Linked DNA regions of Homo sapiens: all the other regions are linked to region 5. The links are contacts of gene promoters, found by promoter capture Hi-C in human tissues and cell types (Jung and others, 2019). All regions are on one chromosome and are shown on one strand. The core of a region is centred on a gene start or on the middle of the fragment in contact, and the rest is flanking DNA. Distances in the headings are between cores, read along the strand shown. Region 1 overlaps ROCK1 (Rho associated coiled-coil containing protein kinase 1). Region 2 has its middle 170 kb from the start of ROCK1. Region 3 overlaps GATA6 (GATA binding protein 6). Region 4 overlaps ROCK1 (Rho associated coiled-coil containing protein kinase 1). Region 5 holds the start of SNRPD1 (small nuclear ribonucleoprotein D1 polypeptide).

The links. Contacts are between HindIII fragments. The study calls those that stand out against the background at their distance.
Region 1: a contact is called between a fragment that was not itself captured here and the fragment with the promoter of SNRPD1 in region 5, in 2 of the 25 tissues and cell types used here (heart left ventricle and lymphoblastoid cells).
Region 2: a fragment that was not itself captured here is called in contact with the fragment with the promoter of SNRPD1 in region 5 in 5 of the 25 tissues and cell types used here (H1 embryonic stem cells, dorsolateral prefrontal cortex, liver and 2 more).
Region 3: a fragment that was not itself captured here is called in contact with the fragment with the promoter of SNRPD1 in region 5 in 1 of the 25 tissues and cell types used here (dorsolateral prefrontal cortex).
Region 4: a fragment that was not itself captured here is called in contact with the fragment with the promoter of SNRPD1 in region 5 in 2 of the 25 tissues and cell types used here (aorta and hippocampus).

What each region holds. Positions count from the first base shown.
Region 1 is chr18:21,023,137-21,025,836 of GRCh38, forward strand. It overlaps ROCK1 (Rho associated coiled-coil containing protein kinase 1), which reads right to left. Exons shown (of 33, transcript NM_005406.3): 11 at 484-544. Among named protein-coding and RNA genes, the nearest start is that of ROCK1, 87 kb to the right of the region's middle. The HindIII fragment of the contact is 5,100 bases long and covers 1-2,700 here.
Region 2 is chr18:20,939,438-20,942,137 of GRCh38, forward strand. No RefSeq gene overlaps it. Among named protein-coding and RNA genes, the nearest start is that of ROCK1, 170 kb to the right of the region's middle. RefSeq lists enhancers at 1-356, 357-962. The HindIII fragment of the contact is 5,118 bases long and covers 1-2,700 here.
Region 3 is chr18:22,175,673-22,178,372 of GRCh38, forward strand. It overlaps GATA6 (GATA binding protein 6), which reads left to right. Exons shown (of 7, transcript NM_005257.6): 3 at 1,283-1,449. Among named protein-coding and RNA genes, the nearest start is that of GATA6, 7.4 kb to the left of the region's middle. RefSeq lists an enhancer at 2,630-2,700. The HindIII fragment of the contact is 4,632 bases long and covers 1-2,700 here.
Region 4 is chr18:20,968,919-20,971,618 of GRCh38, forward strand. ROCK1 (Rho associated coiled-coil containing protein kinase 1) reads right to left here. Exons shown (of 33, transcript NM_005406.3): 23 at 1,430-1,595; 24 at 197-290. Among named protein-coding and RNA genes, the nearest start is that of ROCK1, 140 kb to the right of the region's middle. The HindIII fragment of the contact is 6,469 bases long and covers 1-2,700 here.
Region 5 is chr18:21,610,988-21,613,687 of GRCh38, forward strand. SNRPD1 (small nuclear ribonucleoprotein D1 polypeptide) reads left to right here and starts at 1,327. Exons shown (of 4, transcript NM_006938.4): 1 at 1,327-1,456. The coding sequence starts at 1,443. RefSeq lists a silencer at 1,076-1,125 and an enhancer at 1,386-1,475. The HindIII fragment of the contact is 13,798 bases long and covers 1-2,700 here.

The sequences.
Region 1 (2,700 bases), core at 20-2,519, 590 kb before region 5:
GGGATGATGAAAAGGTTCTAGAGATGGATGGCAGTGATGGCTGCACAACTATGTGAAGGTGCTTAATGCCACCGAACTGCACACTTAAAAATGATTAAAACGGTAAATTTCATGTTACGTATATTTGCCATACACACAAAACTCTCTGTTTAAATATTTTGAACATGTAATCTGTTTGCCTGTCAAGACCCTTAATGATACATTGATATATCATAGTTCCTGATTCCGAAGATTAAAAAAGATGACCACTGTCAATCTGTGTAACAATTTAGTTTACTAACTGCCTCCAAATATATTATTCCATTTGATATTTGAGCAAAAAATCAGACTGAAAAGGAGATGGGAGATGAAAGTGCCATAAAAATCTAAGTTCAGCTAACCACAGCTTCACAAACAATATATAAATTTACTATCATACCCACAAATATATTATCCACAAAACAATTTTAAAAACAATTTTCTTAATACTAAGAAAATACCTACCAAGCTTTTATCTGCATTGGAGCTAGTTCTGTTATCATTAGGATTTGCTGAAGATAAGTATCTGAGGGAAAGAAAAGTTTAAAAAGAAAAGAAAACAAAAAACTCTGTAATATCCCATGACAACCAATAATAAATACTACACGCCTATTTTATGTTCAGTTATAGTAACTTTGTTTTTAAAAATTAAGTATAGGTTCATAATTTTTATAAACATAATTCAGAAATGATACATATATTAAATAAAACACCCAGTTAGGTCTAAAAATAGTAGCAGCCTGTAAACATATGACTTAATATTCCTGCAGCAAAACATAAGAATATTCATACCAAGTAGGATAAATAAAAACCATAGTCTCAAGTTAGTTCAGATTAGGCTTTCTGGTCATGAGAGCAGGTTATGACAGGTTTTTCCACCAAACAAATAACTTAAAAACATTCAGTTTTCAGAGCTTTTTGTATATAAGAATTGGGGGTAAGAAACTGCTGACTTCTGCAGACATATGCATAACCACCTCTCCTGCACCCAACTATCCTTCAGCAAAGCATAATATTGCCTCTTCGGGTCAAAAAAGTTTTTGCCTATGTGGGTGAAATAACAGAACCAAAGTTTAGGTGATGCTGCTAATCTTTTGGGACTCCCAGCCTTGCAGAGTTCTTTAAATTCAGTGTAAAGTTAGAATTGTATATAAATAAAGCTATTAGTGAACTAATTTAGAGGTCTTTTTTAGATGTCTCACAAGATTCTCAAACAATCTAAATAGATCATATATGTAAACAATTTTTTAAGCTACCAAATATTATATAAAGGTAAGGTACTAGTACTGCCAGTGTTGCTCCTACTGCCACCATGCTACGACTACCATAATCACTACTTCTACCATCACCACCACTACAGTCAGCACCCTGATTAACCAGTAGAGCTATTGCAAAAGGAGATCAAATAGTTACAGTATACTTCATAGCTATTGGAGGCATGTGTTAACACACCAGATATTAATAATGTTCCAAAAGAACAGTTTAAGTAAATTTTAAAAATTAGTGAATAACAGAAGATAATCAAGTATCCATTAAGTATCAATAAACATACACAGTACAATGGTACTATAAAAGAAACAGCTAGAAATATGCCACTTCCTAGGTTTTCCTTGAAAAATTATTCAGATCAAATGGAGATTCAAATAACTTTAAGACAATAATAGGGGCTGTGTAGCAGCTTTATAGAGGAAAAGTCCCATATAACAAATGACAAATTCTAGGTGTGGTGCAATTTAATTCCATTGACTACTAAGCATCTCAGAAATTCAATGTGAGATTCTGCTTATGTAATATAAATAAGGCATATAGCAATGCCAGTGGCATCTAAATTAGATGAGACTGTTTCATCTCTAAGATATTTTCTAAACTTAACATGCTATGTGACTGAGACTGACATTTTAGTCTTCTGCAAAATTAGTAATATAAGCTTGAATGCAGCAAAGGAAATGTAAGGACATCACTTGTATACATCCATTAATTCTTCCACCTTCTGTCTTTTCTCTATCAAGGTACATTTGCATATTATATTGGTGCTTTTACATAGAATCTGGTCATTTAGGTAACTTTTTACAAAACGGGAGTTACTATATTAGGAATATAGCTTAAGGCTATTTTAAAAATCATGTTTAATTCAGCTATAATTAAGCAACAATGATTTCTGCCCTTGGTATTAAAAGTATATCTGGATTTCAGGGATAAGAATTTCAGAGGTTTTCTATTTCATATCTGTATATTCAAAATTATGCTTACATATTACAATAAAGCTAATCAATATTTTGCCAGGGCCAGGTGCAGTGGCTCACACCTGTAATCCGCTGGGATTACTTTGGGAGGCCAAGGTGGGTGGATCACTTGAGGCCAGGGGTTTGAGACCAGCCTGGCCAACAGCCTGGCCAACATGGCAAAACCCCATCTCTAATAAAAATACAAAGATTAGCCAGGCATGGTGGTACGCACCTGTAATCCCAGCTACTCAGAGGCTGAGGCACAAGAATCACTTGAACCCAGGAGGCAGAGATTGCAGTGAGCCAAGATCACACCACCGCACTCCAGCCTCAGCGACAGAGTGAGACTCTTGTTTCAAAAATATATATATATTTTGTTGGTTCTTTCTTTATGAACAGCAACCGTACCTTTGCCTGTTCAGGTAGTAAGTGATTACTTAAAAAATACTATATTTAT
Region 2 (2,700 bases), core at 19-2,518, 670 kb before region 5:
TTTCACCAAAGTCGTCAAAGCGCTCCAAATGTCCACTTCCAGATACTACAAAAAGAATGTTTCAAACCTGCTCCATGAAAGGGAATGTTCAACTCTGTGACTTGAATGCCGATATCACAAAGTAGTTTCTGAGAGTGCTTCTGTCTAGATTTTATATGAAGATATTCTCATTTCCAATGAAATCGTTAGAGCTATCCAAATATCCACTTGCAGATTCTACAAAAAGAGTGTTTCCAAACTGCTGTATCAAAAGAAAGGTTGAACTTTGTTAGTTGAGGACACACATTACAAAGAAGTTTCTGAGAATGCTTCTGTCTAGATTTTATATGAAGATTTTCCCGTTTCCAATGAAATCCTTAAAGCTATCCCAATATCCACCTGTAGATTCTACAAAAAGAGTGTTTCAAAACTGCTCTGTAAAAAGAATGGTTCAACTCTGTTAGTTGAGGACACACATCACAAACAAGTTTCTGAGAATGCTTCTGTCTAGTTTTTGTGGGAAGATATTTCCTTTTTCACTGTAGGCATCAAAGCGCTCCAAATGTCCACATTCAGATACTACAAAAAGAGTGTTTCAAACCTGCTCGATGAAAGGGAATGTTCAACTCTGTGACTTGAATGCAGACATCACAAAGCAGTTTCTGAGAATGTTTCTGTCTAGATTTTATATGAAGATACTCCCGTTTCCAATGAAATCCACAAAGCTATCCAAATATCCACTTGCAGATTCTACAGAAAGCGTGTTTCCAAACTGCTCTGTCAAACGAAATGTTCAACTCCGTTAGTTGAGGACACACATCAGAAACAAGTTTCTGCGAATGCTTCTGTGTAGTTTTTATGGGAAGATATTTCCTTTTCCACCATAGGCCTGAAAGCGCTCGAAATGTCCACTTCCAGATACTACAGAAAGAGTGTTTCAAACCTGCTCTATGAAAGGGAATGTTTTATATTTGTATGTATCATATGCCAATTGTTACCTTTTTTGGCAGCACTGAAAATTCAGGTGATCTTAAACATCAGACAGATAACACAAATAAGTGGTCCAGGTAAGGACTGTGTGAAATAGAAAACATATCCTCTCTCAGAAAACAGTGAGAGGATATTGCTGATGTGCAGGCCTCTGGCCCTTTGTTGAGAAACAGTTATTGGAAATCAGATTTGTATTTGAAGTATTCCAGTTTTTAAATTAGCAACTATTTTCTTGCAACCCCAGCACTTTTGGAGGCCAAGATGGGCAGATTGCTTGAGCTCAGTAGTTCAAGACCAGCCTGGGCAACATGGCAAGACCCCATCTCTACCAAAAATACAAAAAATTAGCTGGGCATGGTGGCATGTGCTTGTGGTCCCAGCTACTAGGGAGACTGAGGTGGGAGGATCACTTGAGCCCAGGAGGCAGAGCTTGCAATGAACCGAGATTGCACCACTGCACTCCAGCCTGGGCAAGAGAGTGAGACCCCATCTGATGTGATTTGGCTGTGTCCCCACCCAAATCTCGTATTGAATTCCCACATGTGTGGGAGGGACCTGGTGGGAGGTAGTTGAATCATGGGGGCAGGTCTTTCCTGTGCTGTTCTCATGGTGGTGAATGACTCTCATGGGATCTGATGATTATAGAAGGGGGAGTTTCCCTGCACAAGCTCTTTTATCTTGTCTGCCACCATGTGAGACATGCCTTTCACCCTCCACCACGATTGGGAAGCCTCCTCAGCCACGTGGAACTGTAAGTCCATTAAATGTCTTTCTTTTGTAAATTGCCCAGTCTCAGGTATGTCTTTATCAGCAGTGTGAAAATGGACTAATACAGTAAATTGGTACCAGAAGTGGGGTGTTGCTGAGAAGATACCGGAAAATGTGGAAGCAACTTTGGAACTGGGTAACAGGCAGAGGTTGAAACCGTTTGGAGGGCTCAGCAGAAGACAGGAAAATGTGGGAAAGTTTGGAACTTCCTAGAGATTTGTTGAATGGCTTTGTCCAAAATGCTGATAGCGATATGGACAATAAGGTCCAGGCTGAGGTGGACTCAGATGGAGATGAGGAACTTGTTGGGAACAGGAGCAAAGGTGACTCTTGTTATGTTTTAGCAAAGAGACTGGCAACATTTCGCCCCTGCCTTAGAGATTTATGTAAGTTTGAACTTCAGAGAGATGATTTAGGGTATCTGGTGGAAGAAATGTCTAAGCAGCAAAGCATTCAAGGGGTGACATGGGTGCTGTTAAAGGCATTCAGTTTTATAAGGGAAGTAGAGCATAAAAGTTCAGAAAATTTGCAACCTGACAATGTGATAGAAAAGAAAAACTCATTTTCTGAGGAGAAATTGAAGCTGGCTGCAGAAATTTGCATAAGTAAGATGTTAATCCCCAAGACAATGGGAAAAATGTCTCCAGGGTATGTCAGAGGCCTTCACGGCAGCCCCTCCCATCACAGACCCAGAGGCCTAGGATAAAATGGTTTTGTGGGCCAGGCAGGGTCCACATGCTGTGTGCAATCTAAAGACTTGGTGCTCTGCATCCCAGCCACTCCAGCCGTCACTAAAAGGGGCTAAGAGACAGCTTGGGCTGTTGCTTCAGAGAGTGGAAAACCCAAGCCTTGGCAGGTTCCATGTGGTGTTGAGCCTGTAGGTGCAGAGAAGTCAAGAACTGAGGTTTAGGAACCTTGGCCTAGATTTCAGATGTATGGAAATGCCTGGATGCCCAGGCAGAA
Region 3 (2,700 bases), core at 98-2,597, 560 kb after region 5:
GTATTAATGGAATTAAAGTTTTTATGCTAAAGTCATATTTAAATATCGTTACCACACAGTTGATAGTAGACACAAGCAATAAACTGCAAGGGGATGAGAAAGAACCAAAAGGTTCACCAGCACATAATCTTAAGCTAAAACTCTGAAGTGTAATGTTTATTTACTTTAAAAAGTGATTCAGGAATGCTTCTTCAATAATGCAGAACTAGGACATTTAAACCTTCTATAATCTAAAGAACCTTAAATGGCGGTCTATACTTTTTTTTGGTCTATACTTACAATAAGTACCTTTCTCATTTTTAGAGACATTTATTCTTCCATATTTAACCTTCTTGAGAAGTAATAAATGTTACATTTACTCTTAATTAGGATTTGTTTTTATTAGCAGGTTTAGGTTATTGTGAATTCTGAAAACTAACCAAAGAATAATAATAATAAAATTATGTAAAATAAACACATTTTAAATCGATTGCTAACTCAAAATGATCACTGGGAAGGTCTTGGTAATTTTCTCAATCAGTAAGGTATCAACCTTTTATAAAAATTTTGCAGATAGAAGCAGTTGGACCCACTTCTAAATCGGGATTTTAGCATTTGATCTTTGTGGCATGAAAATAAAACTCTGTGCTTAACGTTAGTGCATTTTTCCCCTGAAAAGATGAGAGTAATCTTCTCATTTCTAGTTTCTAACTAACGTAGGTGCCTAAGAATAGTACTTTTAATTTCACTTGTGTATCTTTAATTGGAGAAGAGGCACATATGGACGGGTGGCAGATGTAGAAAATACTTTTTAAAATTACTTGAGATAAAAGTTAATGAGGCAGCCTCGCTGTGTCCCCGGATATTTGTGGGTTGCAGCGGGGCTCAGTGGTCAGTATTTCTGTGTGGCTTGCTCGGGTTTGGCAACGACGTACTGTAATGATGATGGATTTCAGTCTTTAAAAGCTCCGGGACAGCCTGAGAGTAGGGGTCAGGGGACTCAAGCCGACCTCCCCACCGCTCATCTCGGACTCTGACGTCCTCTGCTTCCAGCACTGTCTCTTTCCCGGAGTCTCTACTGGGGCGCTCCGGGTGTGCAGAAGTATTGGACAAATGGTCAGTGGAGCAATAGTGACGAAATAACCCTGCTCCTGGCTTTGCGGCCAAGGAGAAAAGCTCAGCCGGGAAGGGCACGGGCAGGGAAGCCGGGCACCGGGGCTGGGGGCCGGGGTCCCCGGGGTGACGCGGGGAGGGACGGGTCCGGCGCGCCCACTCCCGCCCTCACGCACCGCTGTCGCCGCAGACCTGCTGGAGGACCTGTCCGAGAGCCGCGAGTGCGTGAACTGCGGCTCCATCCAGACGCCGCTGTGGCGGCGGGACGGCACCGGCCACTACCTGTGCAACGCCTGCGGGCTCTACAGCAAGATGAACGGCCTCAGCCGGCCCCTCATCAAGCCGCAGAAGCGCGTGGTGAGTGTGACCCGCCCTGCCCCTGGCTCGCGGCCGGCCCCGGGCTCTCCTGGCCCGGCCGGCCCCGCCCTGGCTCGGCCTGCCTTGGGCGTCCCCCTCCCAGGGGACAGGTGCGGCCGCTGCGGTCCCACCCTAGCGGGGACCCAGCGGTACCATCCTGTCCCGGCTGTTCCAACGCCCACCCGCTGGCGCCCAAGTAGAAGTTACCCCGAAACTGGCCTCTGGGAAGCCAAGATAGCCTTTCCCCATGTTTACGCGCAGGGGATGACGTCCGTAAATGACAAAAACAAAAACAAACAAAAAAGGAAGGTGCAAAATGTTACCATGTTTTAAGCAAAAAAAGAAAAAATAATCTATATATCTCTAGGTGTACTTGCCAAAGCACCGTAATAATTCTGGTAAGATAGGCAAGAAATTGGTGATGGTAACCCGAGGAGAAAAACAGTAGACCTACCGAGGCCGGGCGAAGGAAGACTTTTTTCACTGTGTATGGTTTAGATTTTATGCTTGAAAAACCATGCTCACTTATACCATTCGTCCCCCAAATAGAATATGCCAGAAATCCACCCACTCACGCCTCCTCACAGCCACATTCTTTTGGGTGCCGTTTACTTTGTCCTTTCCACCTTCTTGGTCACTTCTACCTCTTATCCTCAGGTGTATCCCCAAATACCATATCTTGGATTGCCCTTGAGCCTGGTGAAAATTTATTTGCTCTAACTTTTGTTATTTCAAAATCAGAGAACTTTGTAGAACTTGAGTAAAAGTGTGGTTTGTATGTTCTTAAGTTGAGCATTTTCCCCAATTCGCACACGTTTTACTGTTTTTTTGTTTTTTTTTTTTTTTTTTTTTTTTTTGAGACGGAGTTTCACTCTTGTTGCCCAGGCTGGAGTGCAATGGCGCGATCTCGGCTCACCGCAGCCTCCGCCTCCAGGGTTCAAGCGATTCTCCTGCCTCAGCCTCCCGAGTAGCTGGGATTACAGGCATGTGCCACCACGCCCGGCTCATTTTTTTGTATTTTTAGTAGAGACAGGGTTTCTCCATGTAGGTCAGGCTGGTCTCGAACTCCCGATCTCATGTGATCCCGCCCGCCTCGGCCTCCCGAAGTGCTAGGATTACAGGCGTGAGCCACCGCGCCCGGCCACCATGTTTTAAAGTAAGGGAATCCTGATTTCAGGGATTAATCTCGTATTGTCATTGTTATGTGTGCTTCCTAGCCGGAGAGAGTATTTACCGCTGTAATAGAGAAAA
Region 4 (2,700 bases), core at 128-2,627, 640 kb before region 5:
AACTAACAATGTCTTTAATTATTCAAATAAGTATACATTACATAGTAACTTTCAGTAACTTCATTAAGATAATTCTTAAGGCTACAGAAGTTACTTAATATATGAAAACAGGTATCTTAGAAACCTAACACAACATAGGTAAAGATAAATCACTGAATTTGATTTAACATGATGATTTTTTAAAAATTCTACATACCTTCCTCTGCCTTCTTCATTTTCTCTGTTAGCTCTTCATTCTCTCTTCTTAATATTTCAATATCTTTGGTTAGCATGCTGTTTGCTTCTTCAAGCTAAACAAAGCACACAAAAGTTTAAGCTCCAGCCTCTTTGCTATTCTCGTATTTCAGGCAGTAACCTTTAAATATACTGCTAGATAAAGACAGGTCAGACACTGCTGAACTACAGCAAATGTCTGGTTTCCAGCTTAAAATATGTAATTACATCAAAAATATTTAAAAGTAGTTAACAGCATCCAAAAATTATTTCATTGTATGCATATAGATATATGTATGAACAAAAGGGGGGCATATGTAATGGCAAGATAACTAGATTGCAAACTAAGAAATTTGTATTTAGTTCTAGCTCTGCGATTAACCTAGTATGTGACCCCGAGCAAGTCATACTTTTTCTGGACTTCAATATCTTTATCTGAATATTGATGATGAAAACGATAATAAAAACATTTATTTATAGATTACTTTTAGTAATATATAATCATTACTTGTTATATGTTATATTAATCATTCTATGTCTACTGTCTTATTTAATCCTCATAACAATCATGTGGAAGAGATATTACTATTTCTATTTTATAGATGAGAAATCTGAGGCTTAGAGAAGTTAAAGCCAACTTTGCCAAGACCATATAACTTCTTAGGGGCAAAACTGGAACCCAGAGTGACTGATAGTGGCTTTACAAGAAAAATCTAACTCCTCTTTTTAGTCGCATGATTCTATATAGATTACAGTATAAACCTCAGGAATAGGTAATTGTTTGGAGTATTGGTTTTCTTATAATGGATTTATATATTATCCCAAGAATTCCTCATTCCCAAATGGTTTCTCTATATTTCACAGAATTCTGGCCCATAAAATCAGTTGCAATGTATTAAGAGAACAACAAATGAATTTAAGCTAAGCCATTACTTCATATGAAATATAACTAATAAGATCTACAGCCAGAAAAACAGCCCAATATTGCATTGGTTCTGTGCCTATACAAACAAAAGCCCAATATCTTGAACAAGAATTTCAATAATTAACAAATGTTTGGTATTATACAAACTATTTTATACATGAGTACAGAATGACCACTATGTATTAACATAGAAGTAAATACACTTGCACACACACTTACCCTAATATTTTAAGATGTGACCTATTGTGATTTAAATAAATTTTATATAACTTACCTGACTATCACACTTACCCGACTAACAGTGTGATCTTTATCTGTAATCTCTTGTCTATTTCTTGAAGCAGCTTTCTTGCTTTCTTGCGTCAATTCAAAATACTGTTCTTCCAGAAGGCCTCGCGCCAACTGCTCAGACTCAGCTTTTGTTTCTGCTAGATCCAACTGAGTAGCAAGAGTTTCTCTGCAACAATTTTTTAAGAGAAACTGATGTAAACAAATTCAGTTCATCCTTCCAACTTAATCATATTCTTAAAAACACAATTAACTTTAAATGATAAAAAGAATTATTTTATTGCTTAAAATAAATTTAAATCCATTGCAAACTTTCTATAAAAGTAATGAATTTAACCTCTCACATGTTGAAAAATTATAAAAGAACTATTTAGTTTTCTATCCCATATTGTGCTTAACTAAAAAAGGTCATAAAGCAATAGCAAATAGTCTGCTTTTGAAAAGAAATTTCTTGCAGATTTGGAATGGAAGGCAGCGTGGCATAGTGGAAAAGTCATTGACTTGTTAATCAGCAGGCTAGACCCAGAACTTTATCTCTGTTTTATCATTAACTAATTGAGTAGAGACACTGGGCAAGTCCCTTACACTTCCTGCAGTTCAGTTTCATCAAATCTGTAAAATGAGATGGTTAAACTAGTCCCTTCCAGCTCTGAAATTAAATGAGATTATGAAAACTTATAAGAGATTTGCAAATCACTACAAACTAATCTGAGAATGCTCCCTGGAAATGATACTAAAACATTTCAGAACTGACATTCAGACCAAGACAACTCCAGTTTGCCTACTCTTCTCAAAGAGCCTCTCTTGGATAAGCTCTCTTAGTCACTACTGTATTCCCTGAACAGAGTAGGTGCTCAATAAATATGTTCTGAATGAGTAACTTCCACCTCCTATTTTCTAGTGAGTATTACAATTCAAATTTTCTGCCTGAAGCCTCAAGAGGGAGACATATAGTAAACATACACACACACACACACACACACACACACACACACACACATACACACAGAAAATTCATTAATTCACCCAACAGCTATTTACTTGAAGGTTTACTAAGTACTACACTATGTTTACTATGCATCACGCTGTTCTAGGAATTAAGAGATACAGCAGGCCGGAAGCAGTGGCTCACCCCCATAATCCCAGCCCTTTGGGAGGCTGAGGCGGGCAGATCATGAGGTCAGGAGTTGGAGACCAGTCTGCCAACGTAGTGGAACCCCATCTCTACTAAAAATACAAAAAATTAGCCAGGTGTGGTGGTGTGTGCCTGTAAT
Region 5 (2,700 bases), core at 77-2,576:
TGAGCCGAGATCGCGCCACTGCACTACAGCCTGGGCGACAGAGGGAGACTCTGTCTCAAAATACATACATACGTACGTACATACATACATACATAAAAAGACGATAATTAGCGGGCCATGGTGATGCGCGCCTGTAATCTCAGTTACTGGAGAGGCTGAGGCACGAGAATGGCTTGAAACCGGGAGGCAAGGGTTGCAGTGAGCTGAGATCGCGCTACTGCACTCCGGCCTGGGCGACAGAGTGAGACTCCATCTCAAAAAAATAAAAAATATATATATTTTGATGAGATGTTGAGAAAGATGAAGACTGAAAAGTTTGTCTTATAGATTGGAACTTAAAGTGAAAATAATCTGCTACATTGTGGATTTTATTTTTATTATTATTATTTTTTGAGACGGAGTCTCGCTCTGTTGCCAGGCTGGAGTGCAGTGGCACGATCTCAGCTCACTGCAACCTCCACCTCCTGGGTTCAAGCGATTCTCCTGCCTCAGCCTCCCGAATAGCTGGGACTACAGGCGCGCATCACCACGCCCCGCTAATTTTTGTATTTTTAGTAGAGGCGGGGTTTCACCATGTTGGCCAGAATGGTCTCGATCTCTTGACCTCGCTATCTGCCCGCCTCGGCCTCCCAAAGTGCTGGAATTACAGGCTTGAGCCACAGCGCCTGGCCCATTGTGTGATTTGCTTCAGGTACAGTAAGCAATGCTAGGTTCCTGGTGTTGGAACAGAATCAGCATAAGACTTTGGGCTTCTCTAAGACCTTCTTTCCGTTCAGTGAGGAATTTGTATTAGGTGCTGCACTCACAGTGCCCTGCTGTTCAGAAACGTGATGGTGACAGTACTTTTTTTTTTTTTTTTTTTTTTTGGGAGACGGAGTTTCGTTCTTGTTGCCCAGGCAGGAGTGTAGTGGTGCGATCTCCGCTCACTGCAGCCTCCGCCTCCCGGGTTCAAGCGATTCCCCTGCCTCAGCCTTCCGAGTAGCTGGGATTACATGCGCCCGCCACCACGCCCAGCTAATTTTTTGTCTTTTTAGTAGAGACGGGGGTTTCACCCTGTTGGCCAGGCTGGTCTTGAACTCCTGACCTCAGGTGATACCCCCGCTTCGGCCTCCCAAAATGCGACAGTCCTATTAATTGGATTTAATCTCTTCGAATCTCCCTCTCTTGTAGGACATTTTTCTCCAAGACCAGCCCTCGATACCCTCAGCCGTCGCAAGGCAACCTCCAGCCGCCAGGGGCCGCAGTCGCGCTCCTCGCGGCCGGAAGAGAGTGCGGCCCAGCGCAGCCTCGGCGTTTCCGCCATGCGCCTGCAGTGCTCCGCGCGCTCTTGACGTCCGGAGCCCCTGGAGTAGGCGCTTCCGGCCATTCATACTGCAGTCGGTCAGTGTTCGGTTGAAGGATTCTGTGTGCTGTCGGACCCAGAGGGTGACGGCGCCGCTAGGATGAAGCTCGTGAGGTGAGGGAGTGACCAAGCAGCTCTGGGGGCTGTGAAGGGAGGGCTTGGCCCGGAGTCCGGAAGGCTGGGCTCTCCCATTTGCAGGAGGCGGGAAAGCCGCGTGTGCGCGGCCTGCTAACGGCCGGCCTTACTGCGCCCGCAGCTCGTGCTCGGGCCTGGGCTTCCGCCTGGGTCGCTCGCGGATCCCGCGTGTCTTCCAAGAGATTGGTATAAAGGCCGAGCCTTTTCTTCCTGCCTAGTGACTTAGAGGCTTTAAAGATGCAGCGCCTCCTGGGACACATCTCCCTCTTACAGTTACTCATTTTCTTTTTGAGTGGAACTCCCCAGTCCTGCTTAACAGTACTTAGAAAGCTGTATGAGCTTATCTGGAAACAAACCTGTTTGCAAAATATTTTAAATCAGAGAAGGACTTCCGGCTTCACAAGTTTTTGTTTTTTTAAATAAAGATGGTGTCTCACTTTGTTGACCAGGCTGGTCTCGAACTCCTGGGCTCAAGCTTTCTGCCCGCCTCGCCCTTCCAAAGGGCTGAGATTACAGGTTTGAGCCACCGTGCCCGGCCGATTTTTAAGTTTACCTTTTTATCCTCCTTAGATTTGTGATTGATTATTCCACCTCTATTTCCCTTTAAGGTAGGCTTTTTATTTAGGAAAATCTCCCAATATAGGGCAGAAATTATCACAACGTAATTGTGGCTGATTACTCAGATAATATATAGTTCTCCTGTTTTATTTCTTAAGAAATAAATAGACCCTGTCAGTTAGGTGAGTCTTCTGAAAACTTGTTTGCTGATGTGAATAATTCTAAACTACCTGCAAGTAGATTTGGTTTTGGTGTTTTTCCTTGAGACTAAGCCTGGAACAGAGGCAGACGTTTCTAATAGCTAAGCCAGCAATTATAAATATTTAGCTTGTTTTTTTCCTGTTGAGTCAAGGATTGTCAATATCCGCTAAATAGTTATTGGGCACCTGTTACATACTAGGCGCTGGTAATAGGATTTTTTAAAAGGCAGAGTACCTGCCTTGTTGGAGTTTTCTGGTTAGTGGGGATGACAGACAAGTAGATAACGTCTGAAGTAACGTTTGTTTGAAACGTTTTAAATAACACATAAAAGCCTTCAACACTCAGGGAGGAGGCCAGGCGCAGTGGCTCACGTCTGTAATCCCAGCACTTTGGGAGGCCAAGGCGGGTGGATCACTAGGTCAGGAGTTCGAGACCAGCCTGACCAACATGGTGAAACCCCGTCT